Linked DNA regions of Homo sapiens: region 2 is linked to region 1. The links are contacts of gene promoters, found by promoter capture Hi-C in human tissues and cell types (Jung and others, 2019). All regions are on one chromosome and are shown on one strand. The core of a region is centred on a gene start or on the middle of the fragment in contact, and the rest is flanking DNA. Distances in the headings are between cores, read along the strand shown. Region 1 holds the start of DCTPP1 (dCTP pyrophosphatase 1). Region 2 holds the start of MAPK3 (mitogen-activated protein kinase 3).

Region 1 (6,440 bases), core at 3,592-6,091:
TCTTCACCCACCATCACCTGGCTCAAGTCACCATCATCTCTTGCCTGGACAACAGCAGTAACTCATCCCCCTGCTTCTACTCTTGCCTCCTCCAGTTCTTTTTTTTTTTTTTTGGAGACAGAGTCTCGCTCTGTTGCCCAGGCTGGAGTGCAGTGGCACAATCATCGCTCCCTGCAGCCTCAAACTCCTGGGTTCAAATGATCTGCCCAAAATATGATCACTCTCCTGCTTAAAACCCTCTGAGGCCAGGCGCGGTGGCTCACACCTGTAATCCCAGTGCTTTGGGAGGCCAAGGCAGGCAGATCACCTGAGGTCAGGAGCTCGAGGCCAGCCTGACCAACATGGTAAAACCCTGTCTCTACTAAAAATACAAAAATTAGCTGGGCGTGGTGGCACATGCCTGTAATCCCAGCTACTAGGGAGGCTGAAGCAGGAGAATTTATTGAACCCGGGTGGCAGAGGTTGCAGTGAGCTGAGATCGCACAACTGCACTTCAGCCTGAGCAACAGAGGGAGACTACATCTACAAAAAAAAAAAAAAAAAAAATCTAAAATGAAACTCGTGGTGAATTGGTCTGATCTGACCTCTTTTTACTTCTCCTACACCGTACACATGCAACCACTCTCTGCTTTGCTCACTGCCTTCCTGCCACACTGCAATATGCCAAGCCTTTCCTGCATTAGGCATTGGTTGTTCCCTCTGCCTAGAACTCTATTCCCCTTGATTTGTCCTCAGCTTAAATGTCACTTTCTCCAAGGCAAGTAACAAAAAACCGAACTAAAAGTAGTTTGACCATTAAAGGGATTCATTTTCTTATATAGCCAGAGTCCGAAATTAGGGTATTTCTGGAACTTGTACAATAAGTGGCTCAGCAATGTTAGGAAGGATCAAGTTCCTTTGTATCTGGCTGACTTGCCAATTTCAGCCTGAGGACTAGGTTTCCTCTCAATCTTCTCTCCATATACCAACATCTAGAGGTAGAAACATCCTGTGTCTTTTGTGGTTTTGTTTGTTTGTTTGTTTGATTTTTTTTTTTTGAGACAGGGTCTCCCTCTGTCACCCAGGCTGGAGTGCAGTGGGCTGATCATAGCTCACTATAACAAACTCCTGGGCTCAAGTGATCCTCCCACCTTAGCCTCCTGAGTAGCTAGGAATACAGGTGCATGCCACCATGCCCAGCTAATTTTTTTTTTAATTTTGTGTAGAGTGTCGCTATGTTGCCAGGGCTGGCCTCAAAAGATCCTCCTGCCTCCACCTCTGAAACTGCTGGGATTAGAGGCATGAACAACCATAGCCAGCCCCTGTAATTTCTTTAAAGAACTAAGAAGAACGTTTCCCAGAAATCCAATAGAGTTCCTCCAACTTGGCCGGGCAGTGGCTCATACCTGTAATACCAGCACTTTGGGAGGCCGAGGCAGGGAGATCACAAGGTCAGGAGATCGAGACCATCCTGGCCAACATGGTTAAACCCTGTCTCTACTAAAATACAAAAAATTAGCTGGGCGTGGTGGCACACGCCTGTAGTCCCGGATACTCAGGAGGCTGAGGCAAGGGAATCGCTTGAACCCAGGAGGTGGAGGTTGCAGTGAGCAGAGATTGCGCCACTGCACTCCAGCCTGGCGACAGAGCGAGATTCTGTCTAAAAAAAAAAAAAGACTTCCAACTTATTATCCATAGCATGCTCATTCATAAACCAATCAATGGCCAGGGCAATGGGAACACTATGACCAGTCAGGCAGAACAATCAAGTGGAGGAGCGTGGACCCCAGAACAAAATCAAGATTCTGTAAGTGGCCGGGCGCGGTGGCTCACGCCTGTAATCCCAGCAATTTGGGAGGCAGAAGGGGGAGGATCACTTGAGGTCAGGAGTTCAAGACCAGCCTGGCCAACATGGTGAAACCCCATCCCTACTAAAAATACAAAAATTAGCTGGGTGTGGTGGTGTGCACCTGTAATCCCAGCTATTTGGGAGGCTGAGGCAGGAGAATCACGTGAACCCAGGAGACGGAGGTTGCAGTGAGCAGAGATCATACCACAGCACTCCAGCCTGGGCGACAGAGTGAGACTCCTAAAAAAAAAAAAAAAAATTCTGCAAGAATAGAAGAGGAGCCAGGCATGGTGATGCTCACCTGTAGTCTTAACTACACAAGTGGGCTGTGATTGTGCCACTGCACTCTAGCCTGGGCAATAGAACCAGAACCTGTCTCCTCCTCAAAAAAGAAAAGAAAAAAGAAAAAGAGAATGGAGAAGAGGAAAAAGAGCAATTAAGTAGGTAACCTACAGTGCTTACTATATATCTTCCTGGACCATGCAATCTAAACATGCCCCCAATCACTTTTCATAGTATATATGTATGTATTTATTGAAACAGGGTCTCACTCTGTCGCCCAGGCTGCAGTGCAGTGGCGTAATCATGTCTCACTGCAGGCTTGACCTCCCTAAGCTCAGGTGATCCTCCCACCTCAGCCTCCCAAGTAGCTGGGACCACAGGTGTGCACCACCATGCCCAGATTTTGTTTTGTTTGTTTTGTTTTGTTTTGTTTTTGAGACAGGGTCTTGCTCTGTCACCCAGGCTAGAGTACAGTAGCACAATCTCGCCTCACTGCAACCTCCATCTCTCGGGTTCAAGTGATTCTCATGCCTCAGCCTCCTGAGCAGCTGGGACTACAAGCATGCACCACCACACCCAGCTAAGTTTGTATTTTTAATAGAGAAAGGGTTTCACCATGTTGCCCAGGCTGGTCTCAAACTCCTGATCTCAAGTGATCTGCCCACCTCCGCCTCCCAAAGTGCTAGGATTACAAGCATGAGCCACTACGCCCAGCCTTTCATAGTATTTAAAATACAGTTACATTTATTTTTTTCATATTTATCGCCATTTCAGGCAATACATCATAGGGTCTAATAACAGACTGTGAAGCCAAACTGCCTGGATTTGACGCCAGCTCTACCACTTTACTAGCTGTTAAGTTATTTAACCTCTCAGTTTCCTTATCTTTTTTTTTTTTTTTTTTTTTTTTTTTTTGAGACGGAGTCTCGCTCTTTCGCCCAGGCTGAAGCACAGTGGCGCGATCTCGGCTCACTGCAAGCTCCACCTCCCAGGTTCACACCATTCTCCTGCCTCAGCCTCCTGAGTAGCTGGGACTACAGGTGCCCGCCACCACACCCAGCTAATTTTTTGTATTTTTAGTACAGACGGGGTTTCACCGTGTTAGCCAGGATGGTCTCGATCTCCTGACCTCGTGATCCGCCCGCCTCGGCCTCCCAAAGTGCTGGCATTACAGGCGTGAGCCACCGCGCCCGGCCTCAGTTTCCTTATCTTTAAAATGGGGATGACAACAATATTACCTACCATATAGGGTTTTTGTGAGGATTAAATTAGTTGCTATGAGGATTAAATATGTAAAATGCTTAAAACAGCCACCCCAGTTCCAGTTCATTCCTGAGGTCCCACTGTATTCTGGAGACACTCTTGTATCCTTACAATAAATTCCTTGTGGCCGGTGGGGGTGGCTCGTGCCTGTAATCCCAGCACTTCGGGAGGCCAAGGCAGGAGGATTGCTAGAGCCCAATCCAGCAATCCTGGTTCAAGACCAGCTTAGGCAACATGGTGAAACCCTGTCTCTATAAAAAATTTAAAAAATAAAAATAATAGATTTCTTTTTCTTGCTAAAAGCAGTTTAAACTTGTTTCTGTTGCATGTATCCAATCTTAACTGCTGGATAATATCATTTGTATAAATATACTTCCATGTAGCCATTCTTCCGTTGATAGTCATTTTATTTTCAATTTTTTTCACTCTTAGAAACAAAACTGTAATGAACTTCTTGCATGTGTCTCTCTGCACATATTCATTAATTTCTCTAGGGCATATACCTAGAATTGCAATTGTCACAGCCTTGGGATTTTAATTTCCAAAATCTGACTCTGCCTCTTCCTGCGCTTTCTTACGCTTTCACTTCCAGCAAGCTGGAAGCCTCTTTAAACGTGGAAATCAGAGATAGTAGCCCTAATAAGGGTACAATAATAAATCATTCTTTGCAAGACTACACCTGTTCTAGGGTTTCATAAAGATCTCTGCTCCTCCCATGGCCAATAACTCAGTGGTTCTGATTTGAAAGCAGCAACCCTGTGACTCGCCACCTCGCGTATTCCCTGGTGTGAGTGGAGCCTGGAGTTCTCGTGTGTGGGGTGGAGGAGCCGTGCTGGGGACCCATGAGGCTGGAGAGGCCGGCACAGGCCAGACCATAAGGGGCCACGTGTTTCAGGGCAATGTACGTTGCGCTGGGGCCTACTGCCTCCCTTAGGACAGGGATGGGGCGACCTCCATCGTTTCAACCACAGGACACAGCGATGGCGGGGAGCTGAAGTCCTACTGCCGTCTGATCTTACTCCGCTCTTCCCCTTCAATCCCATCCAAATAGTGTGGGGGTTGGCCTCGAGGTTTCTCAACGTCCTTAAGCCCTGATTTAATACCTATGCATAGGGCCTTTCATTTATAGGGTTTTCCACCTGACGGGCCCTCTTCCGCTGCCGTTTCGCTTTGGCGCCCTCTGGCGCCCATAAACGAAGTGACGCGCCTGCGCTTCCCCCACCCTCTGCCCTTCGTCTCTTCCCCAGGTCGAATTGGTACCTCTACCTTTAGACACAGGGCCTAGCGGAAGAATTCCAGGGCCTAAGACTAGAAACGCGCGCTTGAAGCTCCCTCAGATTGGTCCAGTGAGGGAAGGGGAGGGCTGTAGCAAACTCCACAAAAGTCATTGGTCTCTTTCCTCAGGCTCCGCCCCGTGAGGCAATAGAGAACTCCCGTAATTGGTCGGAGCTCTGGAGGCGGGGCTTCGAGCGTGGCTCGTGGGTTTTCCGTGAAGTCGCGGTGCAGCGGTGGGCGGCATGTCTGTGGCCGGTGGGGAGATTCGTGGGGACACGGGGGGAGAGGACACTGCTGCTCCCGGCCGGTTCAGCTTCAGCCCGGAGCCCACGCTCGAGGACATGTAAGCAGGCCTGGCCCAGCTCGGGGTGGGGAAGTCGCCCCTTTCTCCCGCGTTTTGGGGAGGGTTCCTCCACGTGGTCGGGAAGCGGGCTGGCAGCGGGGCTCGGGTCCTGGCTCTGTGGGCTGTCCCTGGGTGAGCCTTCTTACCTCATCTGCAAAATGGGCGCAGCGGTGCACACCTGAGGCAAGGGAAATTGGGTGGTGCCTCCGAGTGGTAACTAGGAACGCCCTTCAGCCTAGCCCTGGGAAGATACCGGCACCAGATACCGCCTCTGCTCTCCAGGCGCCGGGGGTACGAGAGGGGCAAACGAAGTGCTGAGAGGTGGGAGACGTTATTTTTTGCTGGAGGAGGTCAAGAAAGGCTTCTTAGAGGAAGGGTCTGTGGAACTACCTTCTGTAAGAGAAATTGCATTTTGATGTGCGGCGATTCCAGGTGGAGGAAACTGCAGAAGTAGCAGCAGGAGATGGAATAATGAAGAGGGTTTTGTTAGTTTTGGCGAGATGTTAAGGGCAGTTCAGGGGCACGCCCATTTTATAGATGAGGGAACCAAGTTCCGGAAAGAGGAAATGACCTGCACAATACCATCCAATGAATTAGTTGCAGAATCTCCTGGTCCCAGGCCCCATTACATACTACGGGGGTAGCTGCCTCTGGCCCCTGCATCACCCTCTAACCCGGAGACTTGGACTTACACTCCTTTGTCCTATTTCAGCCGCCGCCTCCATGCTGAGTTTGCTGCGGAACGAGACTGGGAACAGTTCCATCAGCCTCGGAATCTCCTCCTGGCCTTGGTTGGGGAAGTGGGGGAGCTGGCAGAACTCTTGTGAGTAGATGGAAAGCTTCCTGGTAGAGTCTGAGTTGTGGGGGAGGGGAGGGGAGCATTTATTTGGTCTTCAAACATTCATGGGTTCAGTTTCCCCTCCTGATTGCTAGGCTCTTTGCTGTTGTTGGGATGCAGAGAGGACTCACGGGTCCCTGCCCTCTAGGGGCACTCAGCCTCCTGGAAGAGAGAGGTGTGAGGTGTGAAAGCATCAGGACAGGTCCCGTCTAGGAAGAAGCAGTGGCAACAACCCTTTTCCCTTCTTTTGTTTTTTGTTTTTTTGGCTTTTTTTTGAGACGGGGTCTCGCTCTGTCGCCCAGGCTGGAGTGCAGTGGCTCAATTTCGGCTCACTGCAACATCCGCCTCCTGGGTTTAAGCAGTTCTGTCTCAGCCCCCCGAGTAGCTGGGACTACAGGTGCCCCCCACCACGCCTGGCTAATTTTTGTATTTTTAGTGGAGACGGGGTTTCACCATATTGGTCAGGCTAGTCTCAAATTCCTGACCTCAGGTGATCCACCCGCCTTGGCCTCCCAAAGTGCTGGGATTACAGGGGTGAGCCACCACGCCTGGCCCAACAACCCTTTTCCTCTGCCTCTGGGGCTGAAAGGAAGGTATTCTGTAGAGGACCT
Region 2 (6,147 bases), core at 3,128-5,627, 310 kb after region 1:
AAATTTAAAAAATTAGGCCAGGCGCAGTGGCTGTCACCTGTAATCCTAGCACTTTGGGAGGCCAAGGCAGGTGGATCACTTGAGGTCAGGAGTTTGAGACCAGCCTGGCCAACATGGTGAAACCCATCCTAATAAAAATACAAAAAGAATTAGCCAGATGTGGTATTGTGTACCTGTAGTGCCAGCTACTTGGGAGGCTGAGGAAGGGAGATCATTTGAGCCTGGGAGGTTGAGACTGCAGTGAGCTGTGATCATGCCACTGCACTCTAGCCTGGGCAACAGAGCGAGACCCTGTCTCAAAAAAAAGGAAAGAAATGAAATGAAAAGAAAGGCCAGGCGCAGTGGCTCACACCTGTACCTGTAATCCCAGCATGATGGGAGGCCAAGGTGGGCAGATCTCTTGAGACCAGGAGTTCAAGACTAGCCTGGGTAACATGGTGAACCTCGTCTCGATACAATACAATAGTAAAGGCAAAGTGACATGAGAATCACAAGGAAATATCAGACAAACCCAAACTGAGGGACATTCTACAAAATAACTGACCTATAATCTTCAAAAGTCTACGGTCATGAAAGACCAGAATACTACTACTAATAATAAGAAGAATAAATAACTATTTCAGGCCAGGCATGGTGGCTCATGCCTGTAATCCCAGCACTTTGGGAGGCCAAGGTGGGCGGATCATTTGAGACCAGCCTGGGCAACACGGTGAAACCCCATCTCTACCAAAAATACTAAAATTAGCTGGGCATGGTGACACATGCTTGTGGTCCCAGCTACTCAGAAGGTTGAGGTGAGAGGATCATTTGAGCCTGAGAGGCAGAGGTTGCAGTGAGCCATGACCGCACCACTGCAGTCCAGCCTGGGCGACACAGCATGACACTGCCTCAAAAAAAAAAAAAAAGAAAGAAAGAAAGAAAAAAAGAAGTGCCAGACCTTGAAAATCACAAAAAGCTAATAACTGGTTTAAGATTTAATCTGGAGCCAGCCGAAGTGGCTCATGACTGTAATCCTAGCACTCCGAAAGGCCGAGGTGAGAGGATCACTTGAGCCTAGAAATTTGAGACCAGACTGGGCAACATTAGCTAGAACCCTTCTCTACAAACATTCTAAAAATTAGCCAAGCCAGGCACGGTGGCTCACACCTGTAATCCCAGCACTTTGGGAGGCCAAAGTGGGCAGATCACTTGAGGTCAGGAGTTTGAAACCTGCGTGGCCAACATGGTGAAACCCCATCTTTACTAAATATATAAAAATTAGCCAGGCGTGGTGACGTGTGCCGGTAATCCCAGCTACTTGTAAGGCTGAGGCAGGAGAATCGCTTGACCTGGGAAGTAGAGGTCAAGGTGAGCCGAGATTGTGCCATTGCATTCCAGCCTGGGCACAGAGGGAGACTCCATCTCAAAAAAAAAAAAAAAAATGCTGGGCGCAGTGGCTCACACCTGTAATCTCAGCACTTTGGGAGGCCGACACGGGCGGATCACGAGGTCGGGAGATAGAGACCATCCTGGCTAACACGGTGAAACCCCCTCTCTAATAAAAATACAAAAAATTAGCCAGGCATGGTGGCACACGCATGTAGTTCCACCTACTCAGGAGGCTGAGGCAGGAGACCCGGGAGGCAGAGGTTGCAGTGAACTGAGATTGCACCATTGCACTCCAGCCTGGGCAACAGAGCAAGACTCCGTTTCAAAAACAAAAAAAAAAAATTAGCTAGGCGTGGTTGTGTGTGCTAGGCATGGTGGCAGGATCTGTTGAGCCTAAGAGTTCGAGCCTGCAGTGACCTATGATCTTGCCACTACACTCCACTCCAGCCTGGGCAACAGAGCAAGACCCTGTGCTAGAAAAATAATTCTGCCGGGCACAGTGGCTCACGCCTGTACTCCTAGCACTTTGGGAGGCCGAGGCAGGTGGATCATGAGGTCAGGAGATGGAGACCATCCTGGCTAACACGGTGAAACCCCGTCTCTACTAAAAATACAAAAAATTAGCCAGGCATGGTGGCGGGTGTCTGCAGTCCCAGCTACTCAGGAGGCTGAGGCAGGAGAATGGCGTGAACCTGGGAGGCGGAGCTTGCAGTGAGCTGAGATCGCGCCACTGCACTCCAGCCTGGGTGACAGAGCGTAAGCTTCCACATCGTTTTCCCTCTGTCCCTTTTTTTGGGGGGGTGGGGGTGGGGGCAGGGTCTCTCACTCTGTCACCCAGGCTGGAGTGCAGTGGCACCATCAGAGCTCACTGCAACCTCAACATCCTGGGCTCAACTGATCCTCCTGCCTCAGCCTCCCAAGTAGCTGGGATTACGGACGCATGCCACCACACCCAGCTCATTTTTGTATTTTTGGTAGAGATGGGATCTCACTATGTTGCCCAGGCTGGTCTCCAGCTGCTGGGGTCAAGCAATCAGCCTGCCTCAGCCTCCCAAAGTGCTGGAATCACAGAGGTGAGCCACCACGACCAGCCAGCATCATTTTCCAGTTAAATGTTAATAGTATCTACTTCATATGGCTGCTGTGAGGATTACAGGAGGTAGTGTACATAAAAGTGCCTGGCAAGCCAGGTGCCGTAATCTCAGCACTCTGGGAGGCCAATGTGGGTGGATCACCTGAGGTCAAGAGTTTGAGACCAGCCTGGCCAACATGGTGAAACCTCGTCTCTACTAAAAATACAAAAATTAGCCGGGCGTGGTGGCTGGCGCCTGTAATCCTAGCTACTTGGGAGGCTGAGGTGGGAGAATGACTTGAACCCAGGAGGTAGGGGTTGCAGTGAGCTTGCACTCCTGCCTGGGTGATAGAGCAAGACTCCGTCTCAAAAAAACAAACAAACAAACAAACAAAAAAAAACCAAAAGTGCCTGGCACAGAAGAGATGGTAAGTCTACATTAGTTGAATATGCGTCTATGAACCAGAACAAATCCCAGTCCAGTCCTCCAAGGAAATGCCAACCTCAGTCACTAGAGGGGAATCTCAGTCACACTCTAACTGAGCTTCCAGCAGCAGGAGGTGGCAGCTTGCAGCTCTGATACACCAGCCTTTCCTATGCTGGGAAACTCACTCCCACTCAGCAAACCTGGCTCCATGCTGAACTCCATAGTGTTTTCTCTGAGTCACTATATTCTCCCGCAGTTGCAAAATGATCTGGCAAAAGTCCCTCTAGGGTTTTTACTGCTTACTGAGTAACATCCAAACTCCTTGCCAGAATCCAGAGCCTTCCTAATCTGGCCCCAACCTACCTCTCCAGGCTGAAACCTCATCATTTTTTTACTGCAGCCATGCTGGACAAGTTATGCTTCTGCCTTTATGCCTCAGCTCACCCCGATCCTTCTCCTTCATGCCTTTCTTCAGTCCCTACCTTCTGCAACCCTACTTTTTCTCTTCTTCTTTTTGTTTTTTGTTTTTGAGACGGAGTGTTGCTCTGTCGCCCAGGCTGGAGTGAAGTGGTGCAATCTCAGCTCACTGCAACCTCCTCCTCTCGGGTTCAAGCGATTCTCCTGCCTCAGTCTCCCAAGTAGCTTGGATTACAGGCACGTGCCACCATGCCCAGCTAATTTTTGTATTTTTAGTAGAGACGGGGTTTCACCATGTTGGTCAGGCTGGTCTCAAACTCAGGTGATCTGCCCACCTCGGCCTCCCAAAGTGCTGGGATTACAGGCGTGAGCCACCGTGCCCAGCCCCCCAATTTTTTTTTTTAATTAGCAGGGCGTGGTGGCGCGCACTCGTAGTCCCAGCTCTTTGGGAGGCTGAGGTGGGAGGATCACTTGACCCCAGGGAGGTTGAGGCTGCAGTGAGCAATTATTGCACCACTACACTCCAGCCTGGACGACAGAGAGAGACCCTGTCTCTATAATAAAATAAAAACAGTCTAGGACTCTGAGAGGCATGGAATTAGAAAGAGTCTCTGTGTCAGAAGACACCATTTTGAGTCTCAGCTGTCACTACTAGTGACCTTACCCAAGTTAGTAAACCTAACTCTCAGATTCTCCATCTGTAAAATTTGATCCATTTATTAGAACATTATTTTTAACCTAGGGTGATCCCGGGCCCAGGTTCTGGTGGGCTGCCGCATACATTGGCTGGGTGGCTCTGGTAGGTCACGCCCTGGCCGCTTCGCCATCGAGGGGAGGGTGAGGACAGTCTCCGAGGCGGCGCTGCCGAACCTCCCGGTGACCTGGAGGCCGCGGAGCCCGCAGGGACCCATGGCCCCCGAACCTGGGGCAAGAAGGGCGGGCGCGCGCGGGGCGGGTCACGTGACAGCTCCAGGCCCACGCGGGGCCGGGGCAAGGGCGGGGCCTGGCGCGCGCGGCCCTGCGGGTGACAGGCAGGCGGGAAGGGGCGGGGCCTCGGGCGGGGCCGCCGTGGGGAGGAGGGCGGTGGGAGGGGAGGAGTGGAGATGGCGGCGGCGGCGGCTCAGGGGGGCGGGGGCGGGGAGCCCCGTAGAACCGAGGGGGTCGGCCCGGGGGTCCCGGGGGAGGTGGAGATGGTGAAGGGGCAGCCGTTCGACGTGGGCCCGCGCTACACGCAGTTGCAGTACATCGGCGAGGGCGCGTACGGCATGGTCAGGTGAGGGGGCGTTCCGGGGGAGGGGGTGCCCTCAGGGGAGGGGGCTTCGCGGGAGAGGAGGAGGAGGCGCCGAGCGCTTTCCGGGACGTGGAGACGCGGAGCGTCCCGAGGAGGCAGGAGACTCGGGATGATCGGGAGCGTCCCAGGGAGGGGGCCCCTGAGTGCTTTCTGGGGGAGGGGGCGCTGCCTACGTCCTCAGGGGAGCAGGCTTGGAGGCTTTGAGTCCACCCTTCTGTAATGATGGGAGGGGCATCCGAGTGCATGTGGGGGCCCGCGGGGACCCTAGTGACACGGGGCGAGGCCCAGAGGATGAGTACTCTCGGGGAGGCGACATCCTTAGTGAAGAGGCAGTGGAGGGCCCGTTTTGGGGGAAAGGGTGTCTTGGATTCCCCCTGTGAGGCAGTGCCAGGGAGCCTGGGGGAGAAGAGCCGAGATCAGGGTGGGGCAGGGCTTTGGCCCCACCACCCCAGGGGCCCAGAGAGAGATGAGGCGGCCAGGAGTGCCACCTGCATGTTTTGGGAGGGGTCTGTGAGTGCCCCCGGCCCCACCGTGTGCTCTGGGCCTCTATCCCTCTGGGACAGCCCCGCTGCCCGGATCCCTCACCCTGGGACCCTCCCCTGCCCTGTCCATTCTCTCCTGCCCCTCCCCTGGCTGCCACCTTCCCAGTATTTGCCCCATGGTGTGTCCCCAGCATCTGCACCCCCGGACCTGTCTTGGGTTAAGGAGCCTTTCCTGGGAATGGGGGCGAAGGGTTCAGGGCCAGTAGAATGGAAGGGGATTGAGGAGAGGGGAAGTCAGTGAGCGGTCAGTCTCTTCCTCTGTTTGTAAAGTCACCGAAGGGCCGCCTGGCTGGTCCCCAGCTTTCTCTCTGGAGATCCCAGGCCTCCACAGCAGGAAGGAACCAGCATTGTTTATGATTTGACCAGAGCCAGCTCCTGCTCTCTCCCCTCCCTGCCAAGGCCTGGGTGGGGCCACCAGGCCCGGACTCCCCCTTTGTAAGGCCACAGCAGCAGCCTCTCTCCGGTCCCCTCAGCTCGGCCTATGACCACGTGCGCAAGACTCGCGTGGCCATCAAGAAGATCAGCCCCTTCGAACATCAGACCTACTGCCAGCGCACGCTCCGGGAGATCCAGATCCTGCTGCGCTTCCGCCATGAGAATGTCATCGGCATCCGAGACATTCTGCGGGCGTCCACCCTGGAAGCCATGAGAGATGTGTATCCTTCACCTTGGCCAGTCGGCTGGTCAGGCACGGCCTCGCAGCTGGGCTGGGGACCCGTTGCTTGGTTTCTGTTTCCATCTTACCCACCACCCTCCAAAACAAACCCAGTAAAATAAACTTTCCTGCAGAGGGGAAGCCACAGTGTAACAGGACTTGGAGACCTCTGATGAACCCAGGCCTGCAGCGGCCCAGGCAGTATGGCCTCGAGCAAGTGGGTTCTCTGCTCTGTGCCCCAGGGGGAAGGGCTAGGCAGGATGGTCTCTATGGGAGTGGTGTCTTCTGACGTCGGCAGTTCTGAGACATGACCTGGCCTCTGCCCACAGTCACTTCTTGCTAAGGAATGGATGATTCTTTCCTCTCTTTCCTCCT

What was found. Contacts are between HindIII fragments. The study calls those that stand out against the background at their distance.
Region 2: a contact is called between the fragment with the promoter of MAPK3 here and the fragment with the promoter of DCTPP1 in region 1, in 1 of the 25 tissues and cell types used here (dorsolateral prefrontal cortex).

Annotation. Positions count from the first base shown.
Region 1 is chr16:30,428,431-30,434,870 of GRCh38, reverse strand. It overlaps DCTPP1 (dCTP pyrophosphatase 1), which reads left to right and starts at 4,841. Exons shown (of 3, transcript NM_024096.2): 1 at 4,841-4,991; 2 at 5,704-5,814. The coding sequence starts at 4,891. RefSeq lists enhancers at 4,394-4,503, 4,904-4,983, 5,737-6,237, 6,238-6,440. The HindIII fragment of the contact is 14,232 bases long and covers 1-6,440 here.
Region 2 is chr16:30,121,450-30,127,596 of GRCh38, reverse strand. MAPK3 (mitogen-activated protein kinase 3) reads left to right here and starts at 4,377. Exons shown (of 9, transcript NM_002746.3): 1 at 4,377-4,557; 2 at 5,591-5,773. The coding sequence starts at 4,388. RefSeq lists a silencer at 4,016-4,385. The HindIII fragment of the contact is 30,345 bases long and covers 1-6,147 here.